Linked DNA regions of Homo sapiens: regions 2 and 3 are each linked to region 1. The links are contacts of gene promoters, found by promoter capture Hi-C in blood cells and fetal thymus (Javierre and others, 2016). All regions are on one chromosome and are shown on one strand. Each heading gives the region's core, a stretch centred on a gene start or on the middle of the fragment in contact. The rest is flanking DNA. Distances are from core to core; before and after follow the strand shown.

What was found. Contacts are between HindIII fragments. The CHiCAGO score rates a contact against its expected background, and 5 or more counts as called.
Region 2: a fragment that was not itself captured here is called in contact with the fragment with the promoter of SPMIP7 in region 1 in 8 of 17 cell types (total CD8 T cells, total CD4 T cells, naive CD4 T cells and 5 more); the score reaches 11.4 in total CD8 T cells.
Region 3: a fragment that was not itself captured here is called in contact with the fragment with the promoter of SPMIP7 in region 1 in 11 of 17 cell types (naive CD8 T cells, naive CD4 T cells, total CD8 T cells and 8 more); the score reaches 14.8 in naive CD8 T cells.

The regions. Positions count from the first base shown.
Region 1 is chr7:50,094,189-50,097,382 of GRCh38, reverse strand. It overlaps SPMIP7 (sperm microtubule inner protein 7), which reads right to left and starts at 1,500. Exons shown (of 9, transcript NM_001161834.3): 1 at 745-1,500. The coding sequence starts at 1,297. LOC124901630 (a long non-coding RNA gene) reads right to left here. Exons shown (of 2, transcript XR_007060321.1): 2 at 3,042-3,194. The HindIII fragment of the contact is 3,144 bases long and covers 481-3,194 here.
Region 2 is chr7:50,397,678-50,400,871 of GRCh38, reverse strand. It overlaps IKZF1 (IKAROS family zinc finger 1), which reads right to left. Exons shown (of 8, transcript NM_006060.6): 8 at 1-954. The coding sequence ends at 245. Among named protein-coding and RNA genes, the nearest start is that of FIGNL1, 51 kb to the left of the region's middle. The HindIII fragment of the contact is 4,416 bases long and covers 1-3,194 here.
Region 3 is chr7:50,378,641-50,381,834 of GRCh38, reverse strand. The region is part of intron 4 of IKZF1 (IKAROS family zinc finger 1); the gene reads right to left. Among named protein-coding and RNA genes, the nearest start is that of FIGNL1, 70 kb to the left of the region's middle. RefSeq lists enhancers at 2,055-2,560, 2,561-3,067. The HindIII fragment of the contact is 8,997 bases long and covers 1-3,194 here.

The DNA.
Region 1 (3,194 bases), core at 251-2,750:
TCAACCTATAATTTCTTAGAATAATGTTTAAAAGTATTCTTCCTATAGCATTTGGCCCTTTCCTTTTCCGATGCTAAAAATGTTGATCTTTTTACATTCCTGCCTGCCAGACAGCTTTTATACAGAAAATAGTACCTGTGGCTTTCCTTTGGAGGTGTTTCTCATCATTTAGAGGAACTCCATTTACAGGAGTTCTTACAGAGAAACCACATGGTGCAGATGTCAGTAAGAGGTCATCAAACCTGCCTCCATGGCTGTGGAGCTATTTATGCAGAGTTTGCTTCATTTCAGCTTCTGTTCTTATTGGAGCCAAAAAATGTACGTTCAAGTACTTAAATTTTTCCCATTTTATTTCAATCCTTAAAACTAACTCTTTCATAATATCAGTGAATTCATTCTTTCAAAGGAGAGAGACAGATAAGGAGGATTTCTATACAATTATCAAAGTGATACATAAATTCCCCTGTGGTAAAACAAGCTTATCCATATATCTAGAATAAATAATGTTATATACTTTGTGTTAATCACTAATGAATGTTCTTTTCTTAAAGAATAAATTTTCTTTTACAAATAAGTTTATAAGGTTTATCATTCCTTTGTTTCTTATAATCTGTAATTTAAAAATAAAACCTTTTTCAGATCATTGTAATTTTGTTAATTTAACTGCCTAAATATTGAATCTTATGTCCATACTCTCTTCCCTTGAGCATTTAAAAAATAGAAAGTTCATGTCACTTCATTTACCTCCAAGTCTTGCTCTGATAGAAATGTCTGGTACTTCCCTGGAATTCCATCTCCTGTTCTGTTGCAGTTCTTCTGATAGAATTTTTTGCCTTTTTATTGTTGTTTGAAATCCTGTGTCTGGTCTGGGAACTCGATGTTGAGGTTTCACATCACTAAAATCCACTAGGGTTGGTATGGTTCTGCCAATGCCAGGATTTAAATCAGCATCACCACCAGGACTCATAAACCCTGAACAGGAATCACCTAAGGTCACATCATCCCGAAGTGGAAATAATGGATAATGTGGCCCATATGGTGGGGGATAAGGATCATGTAAATGATAGTCTGGCAAAACTGAAGGGGGATAAGGGTGAAATTTAAGAAAAGCAGGGTTGCATTTCTTTTCAAACCTGCCATAGTTATGTCTGTTCTCAAGACCTTTCACAAAAGGCATGTTCATTTTTCTTAAGAGATCACAATAGTGTGGGTAATCTATATTCTCAACAGTTCCTGAAAGGATGGACCTTTTAGAGATACTTATCTTTCCAGGTGTGTCCTGAATTTCTACATCCATGGCCTTTTTCTTTAGAATTTTTGATAACTATAAAGTATTTCTGATAATTCCTTTATATTTAACTATATAAACTCTATTGCCAATAACTAAAGATCTGTGTTAAACTAGTATAAAATTGACACAGCTTTCTAAATGTTGGCAGATAATTTTGTTTTTCTTTTTAAGGCAAATATTTTCCTCCACCAAAGGAAGAATAGGGCAATGAAGGAACATGACATAAGGAGAATAAAGCAGAGCCCTTGTTGCCTGGCAACGGCTAGAATTCTTAACACATTGAACCATTTATTATGTACATCACAATTCTTAAGAAAAACAAAAATAGCCTTGGTACTAATATTTCCATGATACTTTTCTCCCCAGTGCTCAGGAAAGCTGTGTTCATTTACTTATTTTAAAATTTTTCCATAAGTTGGTATTTTATGGGTATAAAATATATTTAAGGAGTGTAAATAAAGCAGTTAATTCAGTGACAATACATTTCTCAAAAGTATATATGTGACTACAATTAAGTATTTATATATATAACACTTGCTATCTAATTAAATGTAAATCTAAATGCACTACAAAATATAAACATTACTAAAGTTAAATTGGTACATCTAATTTTTTTTTTTTGGTGGAGTCTCACTCTGTCGCCTAGGCTGGAGTGCAGTGGTGTGATCTTGGCTCACTGCAAGCTCCGCCTCCCAGGTTCACGCCATTCTCCTGCCTCAGCCTCCCAAGCAGCTGGGACTGCAGGCGCCCGCCACCATGCCCGGCTAATTTTTTGTATTTTTAGTAGAGATGGGGTTTCACTGTGTTAGCCAGGATGGTCTCGATCTCCTGACCTTGTGATCTGCCCGCCTCGGCCTCCCAAAGTGCTGGGATTACAGGTGTGAGCCACTGTGCCCAGCCCTAGTATATCTAATTTTTAAGAAAAACAGAAAATTATAATGAAAGTACAGGTACATCTTTACATGCCCTAAATTATCTTTACTTCCCTTAAATTTGCCATGGTGTCCAGAGTAAGAACAGTAAGAGTTTTAAGTTCATTTTAGGAAACCACAATGGGTATCAGTTAACTGTCTACACACAAAATATCATTTAAATCACTAATGTATTGGTTCACTTAAAAGCTCTTTCACCTGGATAATTTCATCTTGCATGAACTACTATAAGAGGAAATGCAAATATTAGAATTTGGGGTAAAAGTTCACATCATCCTTACTGCAGCAAAAATGTTAAAACAGGCAAGATTCTAGCTTTGAAGAGTCAGGCACATAATCGTTAATCAGGCCAACTGTCAAGGGTGATATGTTTGGTACAATCAGAATGCCTATGCCCCATTGAAAGTCTTTACAATTTTGAGATATACTATTAAACAAGTGAGATTAAATTAGGTGGTTAGGCTGTCAGTTTTAAATCCTTCATCCAGATCATAGCATATCAAGTGACAGTTTTTAGTCCACCCATGATCACTCATTTCTTCATATCAAAAGTGATAACTCACTTGTAATTAGGCATTCTACATTTAGTTGCTCAAACTTCATTCTTCAATGTATTTAAACCAACTGCTTAAGATTTATTTCTATCACAGCTCTGCTCCCATTAAGTAAATCCTTCCAGCAGCAGAAAAGTAGAGGCATGAGTCTCTTTCAATTTCTCTAAAACAAGTTCTAGCTATAAATGGCCTCTTAGGCTGTGTATGGGAAAATAATAACCCCCATAACTTTGTACTTAGAATGGATCCTTTACAAGAGACAGATTAACAAGAGAAAAACAGATGTTTATTAATATATTTCATTTATATATGAGGAACACCCAGAGAATGAGTAGTTCTCAAAGAAGCGTCTTTGAATTCCAGCTTGTATAGCATCTTCAACAAAGACTAGGAAATTTTTAGAGATGTGACAAAGGA
Region 2 (3,194 bases), core at 268-2,767, 300 kb before region 1:
CATCTAGGAAGGTAGCAGTTCTGGATGCTCCCAATGCAGCCCTGCCTCTAAAAATAAAAATCTTTTCAAAAGCAAATCAAACCCCAATCAACCAACTCAAACAAAAAACAAAAAACAGTTACAAATCCAAACACAACATTGTCTGGTCCAGTCCAGTCTATGCTGCTGGCGGGAGCGAGAAGGCGGCAGTCCTTGTGCTTTTCCTGGGGTGGCTCGGGGTCTGGGGTGGGGGCGCGGGAGGGCTTTAGCTCATGTGGAAGCGGTGCTCCCCTCGCGTTATGTGCGACGAGAACTCGTACCGGTCCTGGCTGTGGTAGCCGCACATGTTGCACTCAAAAGGATCACGGAAGCCGTGGCAGCCCATGTGGATGGTGTACATGACGTGATCCAGGAAGAGCACCCGGCAGTGTTCGCACTTGTACACCTTCATCTGCTCCCCGCTGGTGCTGACCACGCGGAGCGCGTCCTGCGAGTTCTCGGAGGCGGCGCGCAGCAGGTCGTAGGCGCGGTGCTCCTCCTTGAGCGACAGCCCGTTGCGCGCGTGCGGGGCGATGTGGTTGGTCAGGTAGATGAGACCGCTGCGCTGCTCCTCGTTGTTGCTCTCGGTGTCCGTGGAGTCTTGGCAGCTGTTGCTCGGGGACGCCTCGCGCTCCGAGGGCACCAACTTGGCCTTGGAGAGCAGCAGCAGGTTCTCCACGGCGCTGTCCTGGGCCGAGTGGTTGGAGCGCGGGGTGCCCTCCGCGAGCGGCTTGTGCAGCTGGTACATCGGGCTGATGACCGGGACCACCTCGGAACCGCCCGGGGGCGTCTGCACCAGCGGGCGCAGGGACTCGGCCCCCAGGTAGTTGATGGCGTTGTTGATGGCTTGGTCCATCACGTGGGACTTCATCATTTCGTTCTCCTTCTCGTAGCTGGCGCTGCTGTCGTAGGGCGTGTCGGACAGGCCCTTGTCCCCTGTGGAAAGCAGGCGACAGTGAGTGGGGCGCGGCCACCTCCGGAACCGGTCAGGTCTGGCAGCAACAGCTGAAATCTACAACCGGGGAGGGGAAGGGGAACACGGCCTGGGGGCCCAGCACGCCTGCGGACCCCACACCTGCACACATACACACACACCTGCGGACACATCACACCTGCACCATACTGACGGGCTGGGGGAAGGCCCATGCGTCTGTCTAGGGGACACCGAGCCAGGACCTACCCATTATAAGCACTTAAGGAGATTTTGTTGGATAAATGAATACATAAATAGGGGAACCAAAGATTAGTTTAATTATGTTATTGTATTTCATTTAATATTTTAAATAGTGTATTTGAAATGATGCTTTTTCAGTAGAGTGTTCTCAGTAATTTACAACTGGCTAACTTACTATACATTTATTGAATTAAAATAGACAATAATTATATTATTATTCATTATATACAATATATTTAAAATATGTGATATGTTAAATTATTAATTTTAATAATTGTATTTAATAATTTTAATAATCTAGTGTAAAATTTAATCAAAATACATGATGATTGTATATTTTTTGTAATAAAATGACACATTTTTGACAAATAACCCAAAGGTAGATGAACTCTGTCTTGAGATGAGAGTGGAAGGGATACTCAAAAGTAATTCTCTGTAGTTGGCAGGCCCGAAGCAGGGCTCCCCAGAAACATGTGGTGGAGGGTAGGAGGCACAGCAAGGGAGCTACAGGGAAAATAGTTGCTATTCATCTGTTATTTTTTAAAAGTAATGAGAATTATTGATGTACAAGGAACTACTGTTGACGCCTCAGCAGTGATTGGGCCCTGGCCTTGAGAAACTTCTGATCTAACATCATCAGTTCATAGGAGTCCATGAGCTCATTTCCCTGGCAATGGTGAAACCAGAGCCTAGATTTGGCTTCTTCAATTAGCTTTGGAGTAAATATCTTAATACAAAAAATAAATTTTCTTGAAGACACACCTTCTCAATATGTTGGTCATAAGTTCAGTATGAAATCATGGCTTAATTAGCAAATTCATTAATTACAGTAACTGCACTCTTACTGGCAAGACTGCGGCTGTGTTCTGTTTTCAGCAGTGGTACATTAATGAGTCAAAGCACATGAGCCCATCCTTGGAATGTCTGAACGGTTTATATTTTACCACTACTCTGTATATTTCCATCCTTCAACACATCTGGACTGGGCAGAGGGACAGAACAGTGAGTAAGTGAGAATGGTCCCCATCCTTAGCAGCAGACAGCTACTAGGGGAGGGTAGGTAGAAGTTTATGTGTGATTGCATGGATAATTCCTTCCCATCTGAGAAATCCACGAAGACAAGGGGAGCGTGCCATGAGAGCATTACACAGGTTTCTGATCTTGTAAGAGTCAGCCAGATAAGGAGGGTTGATAAGGAGGGTTTTGTGTCCCAGTGTTGGGGACAACAAGAAGGAAAGTTCTGAAGGGAGAAGGGGCTGGGAGGTGTGGCAGGACCGAGTGAAGGTTGGGGAACCAGAGCCCTAGGTGGGGGCAGTGCTCGAGAGGTAGGCAGGAGGGGCAGGCAGAGGCCAGCTAGGCAGAGACTTTGTCTAAAGGAAAATGGAAACCACTGAAAGGTTTGAAGGAAGAAGTGGCCTTCTCATTCACTGTGGAAAGAACAGCTTGAAGAGGGGCAAAAGTGAGGGATAAGTCAAAACTTCCCCAATGTGCAGGTTATGGCTGATGATGGCTGGTGAGGGTGGTGGCAAGGGAAGGTCCCAACACCTTCCACGATGCACCTGACACTGAGGTCATCAGCTGGTTCTTACTAACAGAAGGATAAATTACTCTGTAATTCATACATTTACTAATAGTCCTTTTATAAAATCTGTGACCATTAAGAATTGTCCAGGAATATATGCCCCATTATACCATAAAGTACCTTTGAGTTTCATGTCTTATTTTGTAATGGATATGTATCATATAATAGCCTGGTTTCCATTCGTTTTCATCTACTGGTGGTCAGAAGTGGCACATACTCTGATTAGAGAAAAAAAACTTGTGCATGGCCAGTTACGCCCTCCCAGAAACAGAACAGGATGAAAACCCTATGAAGCTGATGGTAGGGACCAAAGAAGTGGTGTTTCTCTCCATTAAAGGTCAGAAAAAGTAATTGTATAGCACTGCTGAAACCACACAATTTTTTTGTTTCTGTTTTTGTGTTGAGCAGCTAAATGTCTTG
Region 3 (3,194 bases), core at 347-2,846, 280 kb before region 1:
AAAGAAAAGTCCCAAACCTTCCTATGGCAGGACATACAAGTCAGAGTTGCATTGAGATTTCTAGCTTTTTCTTTCTTTACAAATCCTAAAACATTTAAGCTATTATTTGTCTATATCCATAGAAGACAAATTATATTTTAAGTACAGGTATTCTAAGAGGTGCAATTTAGTTGTTATGAAGGAATTCTTTCAGGGGTGAGACTGCTGCATTTGTGACTAAGAAAACACCTGACCCTCTCCTCTGTGTGGCAGCACCTGTGTCTCCATTCTGGAGCTGACAAAGGGATAAACAGGTATCTGAGTAAAAGAAATATGCTATTGTCCTACTGAGTAGTCACAGGTCTTGGAATCTAAATCAGGGAACATTTCATTTAACTCTCACTTCGAAGAGTGATACATTTGTCACGTTTAAGTAAACATGAAACTCTTTTGTAAAACAAATGCTTTATTTAGAAGAAGAATGCTATGTGACCACAATTCCTGGTGTTGAGATATTGTAACAACATATTTCCTGGAGTCACTTTTTTTCTCAGGAAAAAACAATGTATTAAAATGTCTATTTAACCATTTCCCGATTGATTAATGTGATTATGGTAAAGAAGACAGCACTTCTCAAAAATGATTACACAGAAGCATATCTGGCACTATTAACATCCACACCAGATTTAAAAGTCTATATTGACACTTGAATTTCATGATTATCATCACTTTTTTTTTAAGCTGGCGGGTTAGATGCATTACTATAAAAGCTGAAACTAATTTACAGTGATGTTCAATTATAGGCCAATGGAGAGGTCCTGATACTAACCAGGAGGTATCTGGTATTTCTCCAAATCCTTACAGAAATCTGTATTAGCTAAGCAGAGAGAAGGAGTTTAAACGTAAGCAGGTTGGAAGGTGATGGTGAAACAAACTAACTAACTATACTGTCTGAGTTACAAACCGATGCATGTAAATCAATACTGGATGAAGAGGCTAAAACAGCTAGCAGCCAGGTAGCCCAGGAGAGTTTCCACTGGAGAGAGATCATTTAATTATCTATTAGGAACAGTTCTGGGCCTTCTGTGCACTTGTGCATAAATGTGTGCATTTAACTCCAAGTGGATAAAAAGGAAAAGTAGAGTGAGCTGGTGCAGGGAGACCCAGGCAGCATGAGACGGATGTGCCTCCAACTACAGCTCTCATTTGGACAGGGTGGCCTCTCAGGAGAAAGCTCATGTCACAAAAATGCTCACAATAAGCATGTGACAACATCCTGGTGACACAACAGTGTTTGTGGTATGACCCTAAATTAGTGAATGCAGCCCTACACTTACACCTGGGAAAGACCCCCTTCCGTGCTGGGCAGGTGCTGGAGTCCCATGTCTCTCCCCAGGTCTGGAGGGCTACAGGGAAAACAGGAGGCAGAGCCAGGGTCTCTGCCCATCGCAGACAGAAAGGGCAGATTGCTACAGACACATGCCCTTCTGCAGAGCAGAGCAGGGCAGGCAGGCAGGCGGGCAGGGGTTCACTTGGATCCTGCAGTGTCTGATGTCTTAATACCTGCCTGCAAACAAATTTCACTGGAAACCTTTTTTGCTTCTGAGTGCCTATGCTGGTATGAACACATAGCACAAGGCATGGGGGTGTTAAGAGAGCATTCCCAGGAGTGACAATACAGAGCACTCCACTCAAGCAGTTTCCTTTGGAGGGGTCCACAGCTAAGAAGACACGTCCATGGAGCTGGGGCACAAGAACGCAGCCCACGCCATGTGTGTTCTTGCGTGGCCGGGGTCCATCATTTGCCTTCTGCAGGTCAACAGCTATTGCAGCTGAGTAGGTCAAATTTCTTCAAGGTTGTATTTACTTTTATTTAACTGGGATGAGGACATTGATGTCATGAATTTGAAATTTAATTTTTAATCCCAATGACTCCACAGATCTCCCATTTTAGGAACCCTCTGTAAGAAGGTTTGAACCCCCTCTAGTAACTTCACTGGGTAAAAAGGGAAGTCTTCATGGATACTATGTCATAGAATTTGAGGGCATTTCAGAAGAAAGTGAAAAAATGTGTTTGAACTGCAAGAACTGACGTAGGTCTACTGCAATCATACCTGGGAGGAGCAGTGCCATTAGGGTGCTGTTTTTAGGAGGCTCAGGGACTGCACCTTTTTATCTTACAGATGGGAACTAGATAGGCACAGACAATCTTCTTGGTCTTTGTTATTAAAAATCCCATTATTTAGAATAATAATGTGGTGTATTTGCACCCTGCATTTCCTGCTTCCTTCCTACCTCTCTCCTCTCTGGTTCTCACAATAACCCTGAGACATTGGTGGGGAAGATGTTACTATTACACCCGAGTCAGAAATATAAAACTGAGCTGCACAACAGGGGAAGTGACGTGCTGGTGCCGATGAGCTGATTAGAAAATGGCGCCAGTGGTACTTCACCAACGTGGGGATATGGGCAGAGGCGAGACCGCCCCTGAATCCTCTCAGTGTATCCTGGAAGGGACTGAGAAGCTGACTCAGCCATGGGCAGGAGGAGGAACAATGGCCACAGTGCAAGTCCTAGCCTGTCCAGTGGGGATTCCCGTCGTACCTAAGCCCCAGGTGGAGAGCCCTCTGAATGGCCCTGTTCACTGTCACTGCTCAGCTGCACTGCCCTGCTGCCTGAGGCGGCTCTGTGCTCCACAAGCTGGGAGCTTGTTAGGAATGCTTGCTCTCCTGCCTCCCCCCAGGTCTGAAGCAGAGTTGTATGTTCACGAGATCTCAGGTGATTTACATGCTCTTTCAAGTTTGAGAAGCACTGCTCTAGAAATGTTTTAAGCATAGAGAATTCAGAAAGCATGCCTTTTCTAACATATTCCACTCAGATCCCAGGAAAATGAAAACCTTTTCTAGCATGTCTAGTTATTCAAACCAAGTTTGGCCAAACCAGGTATTTCTGTATCTACCTGGGACCCTTTATATTTAGGCAAGTGGAAATGCATGATGAAAACAATTCATGAGTTCATTGCTTCAAGTGTGTGTATTTTTTTAACAAAGGGCAAGGCAGAAACTATAAAATTGACTTCTGAAAGTTATTTGTTCCGTAAGTGAAAAACTCAGCTTATTGGTGTGCAGGTGGCACCTAGCTGCTATTTGTTGGGAGAAGTGAGCAGCAAACAGCAGGTGCCACCTGGCATATCTGTACTTGGCAGGTTTATTCAT